Regions from separate parts of the Homo sapiens genome. Here region 1 is linked to region 2. The links are contacts of gene promoters, found by promoter capture Hi-C in blood cells and fetal thymus (Javierre and others, 2016). All regions are on one chromosome and are shown on one strand. The core of a region is centred on a gene start or on the middle of the fragment in contact, and the rest is flanking DNA. Distances in the headings are between cores, read along the strand shown.

Region 1 (6,022 bases), core at 256-2,755, 1.5 Mb before region 2:
TTTTCTCCCAGTCTGTGACTTGTCTTTTCATTCTCTTGAACATTTTTTTTTAAACCAATGTTCTCTTCATGGCAATATATGCATTCTCTAAGATGACCGAAGCTTTCTCTATCATGTTCCCTTGACTGTAATTGTTTTTCATACACTCTGTTAGGATTTCCAGGTTTAATGTTTGTCAGCCAACAGTCTGAGAGACTTGACCTTGGCCCCTTATCCAAATGCTGGGGATGCACGCCAGCATAATAAAATGCAAGTGCCATGTCTTAAATATAAAAACCTACCGATTTGTTGGATTCTTTTTTTCTGCCAAGGACACAGTGACAGACTGGCCATGGGCTACACTTGCAGCTATGTGCTCGCTGACACAGGCATATAAAATGCTTTACTAAGTGGCAAAACATGGGAATATTATCTCCGGGTTTCCTTAAGCATTAGAAAAACATGTTGGGGCCGGGCGCAGTGGCTCACGCCTGCAATCCCAGCACTTTGGGAGGCCGAGGCGGGCGGATCACTTGAGGTCAGGAGTTCGAGACCAGCCTGGCCAACATGGTGACCCCCTCGTCTCTACTAAAAATACAAAAATTAGCCGGGGATGGTGGTGCATGCCTGTAATCCCAGCTACTCGGGAGGCTGAGGCAGGAGAATCGCTTGAACCCGGGAGGTGGAGGTTGCAGCGAGCCGAGATCGCGCCATTGCACTCCAGCCTGAGCAACAGAGCTAGATTCCGTCTCAAAAAAAAAAAAAAAAAAAAAAAAGTTGGTCGCCACTCATTTGAGAGTCGTGAAAACAATTTTAATGGGTAACTACCAGTATTTTCAAAACGACAAAAGAGTAGAACAGAAAATAGAAGGTAGAACATGTAATAAAGGTAACGATTGTTTGCGTTTTAAAACTGTGTGTAGACGTGTATTTCTTTTTTTTCTTTTCTTTCTTTCTTTTTTTTTTTTTTGTTGTTTTGTTTTTTTGAGACGGAGTCTCGCTCTGCCGCCCAGGCTGGAGTGCAGTGGCGCGATCTCGGCTGACTGCAACCTCTTCCTCCCGGGTTCAAGCGATTCTTCTGCCTCTGCCTCCTGAGTAGCTACAGGCGCGCGCCACCACGCCCGGCTAATTTTTGTATTTTTAGTAGAGACGGGGTGTCACCATATTGGCCAGGCTGAGTCTCGAACTCCTGACCTAGTGATCCACCCACCTCGGCCTCCCAAAGTGCTCAGATTACAGACGTGAGCCACTGCGCTCGGTCAGTAGACGTGCATTTCTTATAATCAGTTCAGTCAGACAAGTTTACAATGCACACGCATACCTGAAACAGGAGCAAAAGACTGGCGGCGAAAATGTGCGGCCCATCGCAGGGCGAAAGTACACGTTAGCTAAAGCCTCTGGGAAATGAAGTTCAGGAACACCTTCGCGGAGTGTTCTGGGAACGCTGGTCCAGTGTGCCCGCCCGGCGCCGGCGTGCGGGGCGGGGCTCGCTCGTAACGACCGGAAGTGACCGTTGAAGCCGGTTGTAGGCGTGGAAAGAGGTTGGCGCGCTGGAAGTCCAGTTGCTTCGGCTCCCTGCGTTAGGTCTGGTGGCGGTCAATGCGCTTCCGGACCCGGGATCAGAGTGTGTGGATCGCTATAGGGGGAGGGGAGCTCAGGTATCACCATGGCAACAGCCAGCCCTCCGGACTCGTGACGTCACCCTTCTGATTTCGCGCTTAGAGGCCTCTGCAGGAGAAAGCTGGGGAGTCCTCGAAGGGGGCGCACCTCGCCTCCTTCTGTGCGGGGCGGTCCCGCCCTGATCCCTTGGAGGGCTTTGTTCTTTTGTTCTGGCCTAAGGGGAAGTCGGGTGCCGGGCCCCGCCCTGTTTGTCCACCTTCCAGCTTTAACGCTCTGCAACAGGTGTGTCTTCGTGTTATCCGAGCTCGCAGGGGTGTGAGTCACAAGTGTGCACAGAGGGAACACACCAGGTCTGTGGATGCCCCGGCCAGATTCTAGGGTGGGCACCAAGGGTTTTTTGGATCTGAAGCAGAACCCGCGTACCCGATCTCCACTCTGTTTTGTTCATCGGAGTGCCACACACCTCTCTAGTGCTCTCTTGGGGCACTTCTCTTGTGTAGCACCTCTTGGTCACTTTGCAAGACTCTGATGTGTGATTGTGTGACGTATGCTGCTGACGCCATCCTGTGTCTTTTAGGGTAGACAACCTCAGCGTGTTGCAGATTCCCTGCAAGGGGAGTTAGACATCTGAGTCCTAGACCGAGATACCAGCTGAAGGAACGCTGCCTGGCGAACCCTGGTGTTCAAGTTCCAGAGGAACGGGATGAGCTCCTGAGATGGAAGGTAGTGGGGTCGACTTGGGGGAGAGCGGGGTGATGGAGGCTTGAGAACAGTCATGACTGGAGTATCAAATACTTGAGATCAGAGCAGGAGATTTGGAAGGAAGGAACGGTATGCTTAGGGATTAGCAAAGAAACCGAATTACATTGTAGGGAGAGATTCTGTTTTATAGAGAGATACTTGGGAGAGGAGTTTATTTTTTTCTTTCGTTCCATTGGGGAATGAAAAGACATAATCATTCAGAATATCTGTGATCCCCACATGACTTCTGAATATTAAATATTAAAATTATAATCTTGAAGTCAGAAGACATCTTGGCAATTATCCCTTCAATGAAAGAGTCAGTTTTGAAATCTCCTTGGCAGACGGCTGTCTGTCAACCCTATGCCCGAACTAGTGTGGCATTAAACTCGCCATTTTGGGTGCAGACTATTCCCTTGTTGGCTTTCTTTTTTAGTTTCTTATATTAAACAGATGTACTTGTCCCTGTAACTTTTGTGTTGATCTTAGTTCTTAGTCCTCCAAAGAAAAGGAAACTGTCTGTTCTTTCTTTCACACTGCTGCCCTTAAGATATGTGAATTCAGCTGTTACAACTCCTCCTCATAAATTCTTTTCTAAGCAATATAGCCTCACTTCTTTTGATTGGTCTATGTGATGTATCTAGACCTTTCTCTGAAAACTCTCCTGCTTGTCAGCATTTTTCTTAAAATGCAGTGCCTAATGGTAAACATAGCTCTTTGGATGTGCTTTGAAAAGTACCTGAGAGGATAATGTACTACTTCCTTTGACTCGGATTATACTTCCGCTGTTTGGCATTAGATCACATTTGCTTTAAAAACTATCAGTGATGTACTGTAAACTTTAGATCTTTTTTACATAAACTGCAGTGATCTAGATTTACACCATTTTTGTGTAATGGAATTATTATTATCCTTAATGTCATGACTTACATTTATGACTGTTCAATTTTTTGGTCACATGTTTTAGGCTTTCAGAATGATTATGAATCCTAATTTAGTTATTCAGTGCCTTAACTGTCCTTTCTAACTTAATGCCACTAGCGGATTTGATGAATATTCCTTCTATTTCTTCCTACCTGTCATTGAACAGATCAGGGTAAGGATAGAGGCTTATGACATGTCCCTATGGAGTTCTCTCTGCATTGGTGTTGTCTTTACATTCTTTAGGTATGGCTGTGCAATCAAGTTTGGTTTGACCTAACTATTATCATGCAGTCCTTTTTTTGCCTTTGTTAAAGATAATATCATTAGAAGTCTTAACATTATTCATATTAGTCATGTGAATAATGTAGGTTTGGTCCATACTTTTCTTCAATTTTTTGTACTTCAAGTCTTTTTTACAGTGGATTTTTTTATATATATATTCTAAGTTTCTCAGAATTAAATCAGCCAAAGTAGTTTCATTAAAAGCCTTTGTATTTTCTTTATTTTGTGGATTTCTCACAATTTTATCATTAGGATTAACTTTACTGAGCCTCTGTTCCTTGTAATCATAACTTTTGTAGCACATACTGAGCATTTACTATGTGCCAAGCACACAGTTGGTTTCTGTAACTGTTGCTGTTTTTGGTTCTGTTGGTTGCTGTTATTTGGAATAAAAAGCATCTTACCTGAGACATTTCTCTTGATTCTGTTTTCCTAAAGTCTTAGGTACCTGTCTGTGCATTTAGAACATTTTCTTTCACTGTTAAGAGCTTCCAAGATAATATCTTCATTTTTTTCTTAAGACTTCTGTTACAAAACAGTTTTTCTTTACTGGTCAAGATCAAGTTGAGCATAATAGTTCCCTTTATTGCTTCCTCTACTTTCTGAGGCATGACACCATTAATATAAATTAAGAATTTCTTGATTAATACATTTTTTACAAAATGAAACTTACATACTTAGCCAAACAGTTGAAACTGCTTTTCTCCATATTATTCATCACCCCCACCTGCCTAAGCTGTCTATGGCACACTGTTGCCAGCATGGTGCTACTTTTGTTTTTTTTTTTCTTTCTTTCTTTCGATTTATCTACAATTTCTATCAGGTTTCACACTCAGGATTATTGCATCACATACAATAATCCATCTCTTAGTCTGTCTGTTTATATCAGATCATTTTGCGTAAATTTTACCCAGCTCTCTTTTAAACAAGGCTTGGTCATAAAACCCACACTAGGCCAGTTAGCTGTCTCTGGAATTTGAATCTTGGAACTAAAATTAGATGGCACTGACCTACCCTAATGGTGGTATCCCAAAGAGATTGCCCTTGCACCTTAGTGGTGCAATTTAGATTCCCTTGGGTTCTGTCCATTTGATTGTTTAGCTTTTCTTTTTATTCTTCATGTTCCCCACTGTCTTTATATTTAGTCCCTTAGTTGATTTTTTTTTATAGTTTTAAGGTCTTATGTCTTCCAACCCAACAAGCCTTGGTTAATGCCTAAAATATTGAGTTTCCCTTCTTTTTTTCAGGTGTACATTCACTTGGCTTATTGCCACTATCTCACACATCTATGTGTGGTCATAAATATCCATCTTGACCCTTACCTGTTTGATTGTTTTTTCTTAGTTTTTACCAAGCATCTCTTACAGCATTGCTAGTCTATTTCATACCTCATGTCTCATTCAAATTTTTTTTTTTTGTTTTTGAGACACTGTCTTGCTCTGTCGCCCAGGCTGGAGTGCAGTGGCATAATTTCGGCTCACTGCAACCTCCCTCTCCCGGGTTCAAGCAGTTCTCCTGCCTCAGCCTTCTGAGTAGCTGGGATTACAGGCACACGCCACCACGCCTGGTTAATTTTTGTATTTTTAGTAGAGATGGGGTTTCACCATGTTGGTCAGGCTGGTCTCTAACTCCTGACCTTGTGATCCGCCCGCCTCAGCCTCCCAAAGTGCTGGGATTACAGGCATGAGCCACTCTGCCCAGCCAGTCTCATTCATATTTTGTATCCAGAGACATCTTCCCTCACTAGTCTTTCTGCATACATTAAATTTCTAAGAGGAGAAAATTCTTCTTGTCTTACTTCTTTGTGGAAACAGGTGTGCCTAGTTTGGTTTTCCTCACCACTATCTCCTCTTCAAGAGGATTTTGAAAGGTATGTTTGTCAGACATTCGCCTCTAGTCTTTTAAAGATGAGGAAATTGAAGCCTAAAGAAGACAAGGGACTTGCATAATTATACATAATTAATTACCAGACGAGTCATTTTGAGAATCAGGCTTTCCTGTCAACCAGTACTCTAAGTGGATTCCCCCAAGAGCAAAGCTTTTTTTTGTTTTGTTTATTAAGGTATAAGTTATATACAGTAAAGTGCACAAATACTGTACAATATATAGCTTTTCAAATTTTCATGTATGTATAAACTAGTATAACCAAGATATGGAATGTTTCTAATGCCCCAGAAGTATCTTGTGCCTCTGCCCAGTCAGTTATCCCTCCAGAAGTACTATTCTAACTTTCATTACTGTAGATCAGTTTGGTTGGTTTTTAAAGTTAATATAAATATAGTCATACAGTATGCATTATTTTGTTTTGCTTGTTTTGCTCAACATTATGTTTAAGAGATGCATCCATGTTGTTAATTATGTTAGTAGCTCTTTCTTATATTTTGGAATAATCCATTGTATGAAAATACCATGGTTGTTTATGCTGTGTTCTGTTGAAAGGCATTTGGGTTGTTTCTAGTTCTGAGATATTATGAAT
Region 2 (6,091 bases), core at 1-2,500:
TGTTCCCTTGGCTCCTACACCATCATGACAATAAAATTTGACTCCACCTCGACCCCCCCCATCCCCCACAAAGAACAACAACCAACACTGGTTAATAAGGTCGGTTGTTTTTTGTTTGTGTTTTTGTTGTTGTTGTTTTTGCTTTCAGGAGCAGAGGTATAATAGGCAAAAGAAAGAGAAAGGAGAATAGTGAATACCTCTTCTGCAGAGAGGGGTGCCTAAGTGGGACTTCCCTGGCTAATAACGTCTTGCTAGAGACCCAACCAGGAGGATAATGGAAGCAATCAAGGCAACCAGAACAACCAGAAGAACCGGTTTATCCTTTTTGTGCCCTCTCCCTAAACTGAGGGAATAAGAATTGGAAAGAAGGCTGCAGAGCAGAGGGTTTGCTCCTGAGGAGCAGTTATTTCTATGGGATCAGAGCTCCTGCAGAACTGGGGAGTTTACTTTTACTATCTCTTCTCCAGGACAGGACCTATCTCAAGAGACATGTTCAGAGTGATTGCAACATAAAGAGTTTGCAGACCCAAGGAGGTAGGGAAGGCAGAAAGAAGATGGGGGAGGCCAGGGATAGGCAACAGAGGAGTGACCAGGAGCGAAAAAGCCTGCCTCTTCTGAGAACCTAGCTGGGCTCTCCCTGTACCCCCGATCCCTCCCCCCCGCCCGCCCCCACACCCCTACTCCTGGGAGCTCCTCTAGGACAGGGGCAGAGTCAGGAGGAAGTTTGAAGAGTGCCTAGAATAAAAAACAGTAATTTAACTACAATTACCGGGTAGGCTGTTTTCCTCTCACAATTTGATCAGTCTCTTGAAGCCACACAGAATTTCTTCTGAAGACGTGTATTCCTTGGCAGGCTATTTCCTCCAGTGATACACCAGGCCCCTCTCTGCTGGGGTCACTGCTCTTCTGGGGAGATGGGGCTCCCCTCCTTCCAAGGCTCCAGGGTTCCTGTCCTGGGCCCCACTCATCTAAGTTCTGAATCTTCTGAGATTTGGTGTAAAGTCTGGTGAAAGAAAGAGCAGGAAAGAGGTGAGAGCTGTAAAACAAAGAAAGTCCTGACCATTTTCAGAGTTGGAGGGGCCCTGCTGTCACGAAATATATTCCCCACCCCACTTGCCATCAGTACACACTCACATATCCACTGAGAAAACCTTAGCCTGGACCTTTTCCGTAACCTTCACTGCTCAGACACTTACATATTCGCTGCTAGTCCCCTCTGTTGCTGCCACTTCCTGGGTCAGGAAGTTAACTCAGACCGGATTAAACTGAGAAGTGAAACTACTGTGGGAGGCGGGGCTCATAAGATTTAGGAGAAAACTAGTGACGTTGTTCATATCATTTGCACTCCGCCTCTCCGGTAAAGGAGGGGGAAACGTAGGAAGAAAATATCCTTCTTTTACAGCAATAAAAAGAAGGAACCAATTAATAACCCTGTAAACTATCATGTGACCCCAACACAGAGTATCTAAAAACAGGAAGCCTGCAGAGGTTCAGTTCACAGACTCTGATTTGAGATCTTTCTACTTTTGCCACCAACTCCCTTGGGAGTCCTTAAGCCTTCCTAGCTGATGTTACTTCTTTTGCTATTTATGGGTTGCTTGTGGTTCTATAACTGCTCTGAAGGGTGTGGTGGAAAAAGGGGTGGTAACAGCAGTAGGACTCATTGGCATCACAAAATTCATCTGAGTCAGCTTTCTATTCTTCTCTGTCCCGTTCTGTGTCTTGTTTTTCTCCTTGCTGTCCTTCTGCAGGACTCAGATCTTCTTCAATAGCGAGGGTCAGCCAGGATAGAAAATGGGAGTCACTAGTGGCCCAGCAGTGAGTGCCCCCAGCTTAGAGCTGTGTGGGATCCCTGGGACCATCACTCTGCTTTGTGCTTTGTGGAGAAAAGGCTGTGGGGTCCAGGGTCAAGTCCTTAATGACTTAGCTCCAGCTTCTCCACTTCAAAATGAAAGGAAAAGTACTATCACCACCCGTTAGAATTATTATTTCATGGGGAAAAAAGATGGATTACTATCTCACAATAAGAGCTTGTCACATTTATAAGTCTCAGGTGTAAGAGGCATTTATGATAACAACATAATAAATGCTGGCTTAAGTAGATGCAGTGGTCCAAGGGAACCAGTAAGGGGAGCTCAGGACACAGGTGGGAGGAGAAATTAAACTTGAATTCTGGGAGCCACTGGCCTGTCTGGGCCCCTGGCCTGCCTGCTGACCCTGATAGCCAATGGAACATGGAGTTTGGCCCAGCTGCAATCCCTCTGGTCCAACTACTCAAAATAAAGGCAAGATTGGGAAACACGTTCCTTTCTTCCTATACCAAGCAGAAGACTCTTCAGCACTGCACCCTCCTGGGTGCTCACAGAGCCTTCTGTTGTTTTGCCACCTACGATTCATCATGCCCTGGCATGATGGTTGCAGACCCCATGCATAGCATGGGACATTCTACTCCTGAGGCAACCAGCACACAGAGAGAGGAGAAAGAATGAGCCCCTGAATCCTTGGTCCCACGATGAGTCCTTGCAGATATCTACAACTTTCATTGTTGTGGATGTGACTCTGTACCCAGGCATGGCTCATTCCAGATCTGTCCTATTGTCAGAGGTGTTCAAACCAGAATGACTCCATTTTGAATGGGGGCTAGGTAAAATAAGGCTGAGACCTACTGGGCTGCATTCCCAGGAAGTTAGGCATTGTAAGTCACAGGATGAAATAGGCAGTTGGCACAAGACACAGGTCATAAAGATCTTGCTGATAAAACAGGTTGCAGTAAAGAAGCTGACCAAAACCCACCAAAATCAAGATGGCAACAAGAGTGGCCTCTAGTCATTCTCATTGCTCATTATACACGAATTATAATGTGTTAGCAAGTTAGAAGGCATTCCCACCAGCTCCATAGTGGTTTATAAATACCATGGCGATGTCAGGAAGCTACCCTATATAGTCTAAAAAGGGGAGGAACGCTTGGTTCTGGGAATTGCCCACATCTTTCCCAGAAAACATATGAATAATCCACTCCTTGTTTAGTACATAATCAAGAAATAACTGTAAGTATCTGTATTAGTCCATTTTCACACTGCTGATCCAGACATACCTGAGACTGAGTAATTTATACCAGGAAAAAATGTTTCATGCTCTTACAGTCCCACGTGTCTGGGGAGACCTCACAACCACAGCAGAAGGCAAGGAGGAGCAAGTCAGGTCTTACATGGATGGCAGCAGGCAAAGAGCTTGTGCAGGGAAATTCCTTTCTATAAAACCATCAGGTCTCATGAAACTTATTGACTATCATGAGAACAGCAGTATAAATTACTCAGGGAAAGACCTGCCCCCATGATTCAATTACCTCCCACCAGGTCCCTCCCACAATATGTGGGAATTTAAGATGAGAGTTAGGTGGGGACACAGCCAAACCATATCAGTATCCTTAGTCCAGAAGCTGATGCTCTGCCTGTAGAGTAGCCGTTCTTTTATTCCTTTACTTTCTTGCTTTCACTTTACTGTGTAGACTTGCCCCAAATTCTTTCTCACACGAGATCTAAGAACCTTCTCTTAGGGTCTGGGTTGGGACCCCCTTTCTGGTAACACTATCAAAGGATCAGGAAAAGGAAGCTAGTGAATGCTAAAAAGGAAACAAACTACCATTACCAATAATAACAGCAAGACAAAAGCAAAACGGATTGTGACAGCTGTCCCATCTCACACCTGTTTCCCATTGCAGGAAGGAGGGGCTGGTTCATGCACAGAGTGGCCAATATTAGAAGCAGAGATGGGGTGCAGATGAGACTTCAGGAATATGTTGACAAAGGCAGGCCTAGGGAGAAATCAACCTGAACTATCCCCAAGGAGGAATGCATTATCTCTAATATGTAAAGTTAGGCTTGATCCTGTGATTATGGGATATAGGAGTCCAAAGACTCACAATGGGAAGTAGGTCACTAGAGTCTCCTTCAGAAGCTCTGTACTGTGTGTTCCCACTGTGGGCAAGAGTCAGCACTCAGCTATTCCTAGAATGCCTTTCCTCAACTCCTTCAGATTTTGCCTCTCAACTAACCCTATCCTGACCACTTGTTAGCAAGTGTACCCCTCTCTCCCTCCCAAACATTTTCAAATCTATTTTGTTCCCATGGCACTTATCACTGAATATTTTACTAATTTATTTTGTTTAGTGTTTGCTTCCCTCATGAGAATGCAAAGGGATGGATTTTTTTCAATATTGTTCACTGATGAATCCCAGTAACTAGAATATTTCTAAGCATAGTGATGTGCATTAAATCAAAGAGTAACTTTCTGAATTGCACTAAACACACATCACAAGAGGTGTGTGCACATATGTGCATGATGCACGTAGTGTGGTGTGGGTGTTGTGTGGGGTATGTGGTACTGTGTGTGCTGTGTGTGGTATGTGATACATAGTTTGTGTTAGTGTGATGCATGTGATGTGGTATGTGTGTGCGTGTCCATACATATTAGGGGTGGCGGGGATGTTAATATGTCAAATGGTACTAGAAAGTATCAGAACTCATGGTGCTTACTGGTTTCCCAGAGAGCTGCTTCTCTCCCACCTGTAGGATATACTGATGGTTTGGACAGAGAAGAAATAAAAAGAAGGCTGTGACCTACTGGGCTGAGGAAATAAAAACGAAAGTAAAAGAAGAGCTGGGAAAAGAGAGTGGAGGGGCCAAGGGAAATTTCCCCTTTGGCTTCTGGGGAAACTTTGCTGAAAAATCAACTCACAAATTTATTAACATGTACACAGGGAGAACCATAGAATGATTATCCACTTCCCAAGAGGGCTTAAAAGCTTATATATTATCCTGGCAAAACAGATTATGGGAGGGGAAGAAGAGAAACTCTGTTGATGGGATTACTGTTGCGGATTTTTGCTCCTTCGCTCAGCTAGGTCCGGGTTTTTGTCTCACAGCCAGGAAGAATTAGGCATGCAGCCATCAAAGAATGAGTGGAGTAGAATTTATTAAGTGAAAGGAAAGCTCTCAGCAAAGACAAGGGTCCTGAAAGCAGATTTCTGGTTTGCTCTTCACAGTTGAATACTAGGGCTTAAGACTCAAATTCCTGACAACTCCACCCTGTCCTACCAGTGCATGCAGGCCTTTAGACTGAGCTACTCCATATTGATTAATTTCCTGAACTGTGCATGTGTTAAGGAAAGGAATCATCCACTGCAGGCATGTTTAGGCAAGCCCCCTGTGCAAGTTCCCTTATCTGCACAAAACATCCGGTGTAAGCACTTGTGGGGCAGGTCAGAGGTTCTCTGGGTACCATTCCCTTACTGTCTGCCTAAAGCAAGCTGGCCAACTCCTTTCATTACTAGGGAGAGTAAGTAGATCAGGGAACAGAGATTAACTTGAACATTATCTTGTGAAAGTCCGTTCGGGCATGGTTACATTCTTGGTCTTACAGGAAGGGTAAATAAAAATAATTGCTCTTTTTGGTGGGTCTGGATCTTAGGTAGATAAAGAAACTTTAATTCCACGATGTGTTTTGGTAGGGATAGTTGGTGGCAGGGATGTCAGAGAGACTTTGAGGCTTCTTCAGTTCAATATGACCAAGGGCCATATATTAGGGTATCAATTTCTGAGCCCCAACAAGAGCTTAGGAGAGATGTGATAGCATCACAGTGTGAAAGCAATTTTTTGTTTGTTTTTAGAGACAGGCTCTTGCACTGTCACCCTGGCTGAAGTACAATGGTACGATCACAGCTCACTGTAATCTTGAACTGGGTTCAAATGATCCTCCCATCTAAGCATTTCAAAGTGTTGGGATTACAGGCATGAGCCACGGTACCCAGCCTGAAACTGCACCCACTTTCTGATAAACTTTTCAAATGACTAAAGGGGAGAGAGTAAGCACTACTCAGAGGTAGGAAGAAAGGACACAGGATTATAGGATTAAAACAACAACCACCAAAAAAAACCAGACCGGTGTGGTGGCTCACACCTGTAATCACAGCACTTGGGGAGGCTGAGGTGGGGGGAGTCACTGGAGGCCAGGAGTTCGAGACGAGCCTGGCCAACATAGCAAGATGCTGTCTCTATTAAAAAAAAAAAATACCTGCCTTGAGCTAATCAGA

Evidence for each region. The method cuts DNA at HindIII sites, captures the fragments that hold promoters and counts their contacts. A CHiCAGO score of 5 or more calls a contact.
Region 1: the fragment with the promoter of ZNF184 here is called in contact with the fragment with the promoter of TRIM38 in region 2 in 3 of 17 cell types (non-activated CD4 T cells, naive CD8 T cells and activated CD4 T cells); the score reaches 13.9 in non-activated CD4 T cells.

What each region holds. Positions count from the first base shown.
Region 1 is chr6:27,468,588-27,474,609 of GRCh38, reverse strand. It overlaps ZNF184 (zinc finger protein 184), which reads left to right and starts at 1,505. Exons shown (of 6, transcript NM_001318891.2): 1 at 1,505-1,881; 2 at 2,177-2,322. The coding sequence starts at 2,316. LOC105375001 (a long non-coding RNA gene) reads right to left here and starts at 1,486. Exons shown (of 2, transcript XR_926664.4): 1 at 1,301-1,486. RefSeq lists enhancers at 1,494-1,653, 1,714-1,813, 1,834-1,923, 2,254-2,383. The HindIII fragment of the contact is 5,482 bases long and covers 105-5,586 here.
Region 2 is chr6:25,957,961-25,964,051 of GRCh38, reverse strand. TRIM38 (tripartite motif containing 38) reads right to left here and starts at 1,250. Exons shown (of 8, transcript NM_006355.5): 1 at 1,197-1,250; 2 at 770-1,003. RefSeq lists a cis regulatory region at 5,078-5,382. The HindIII fragment of the contact is 6,907 bases long and covers 1-4,806 here.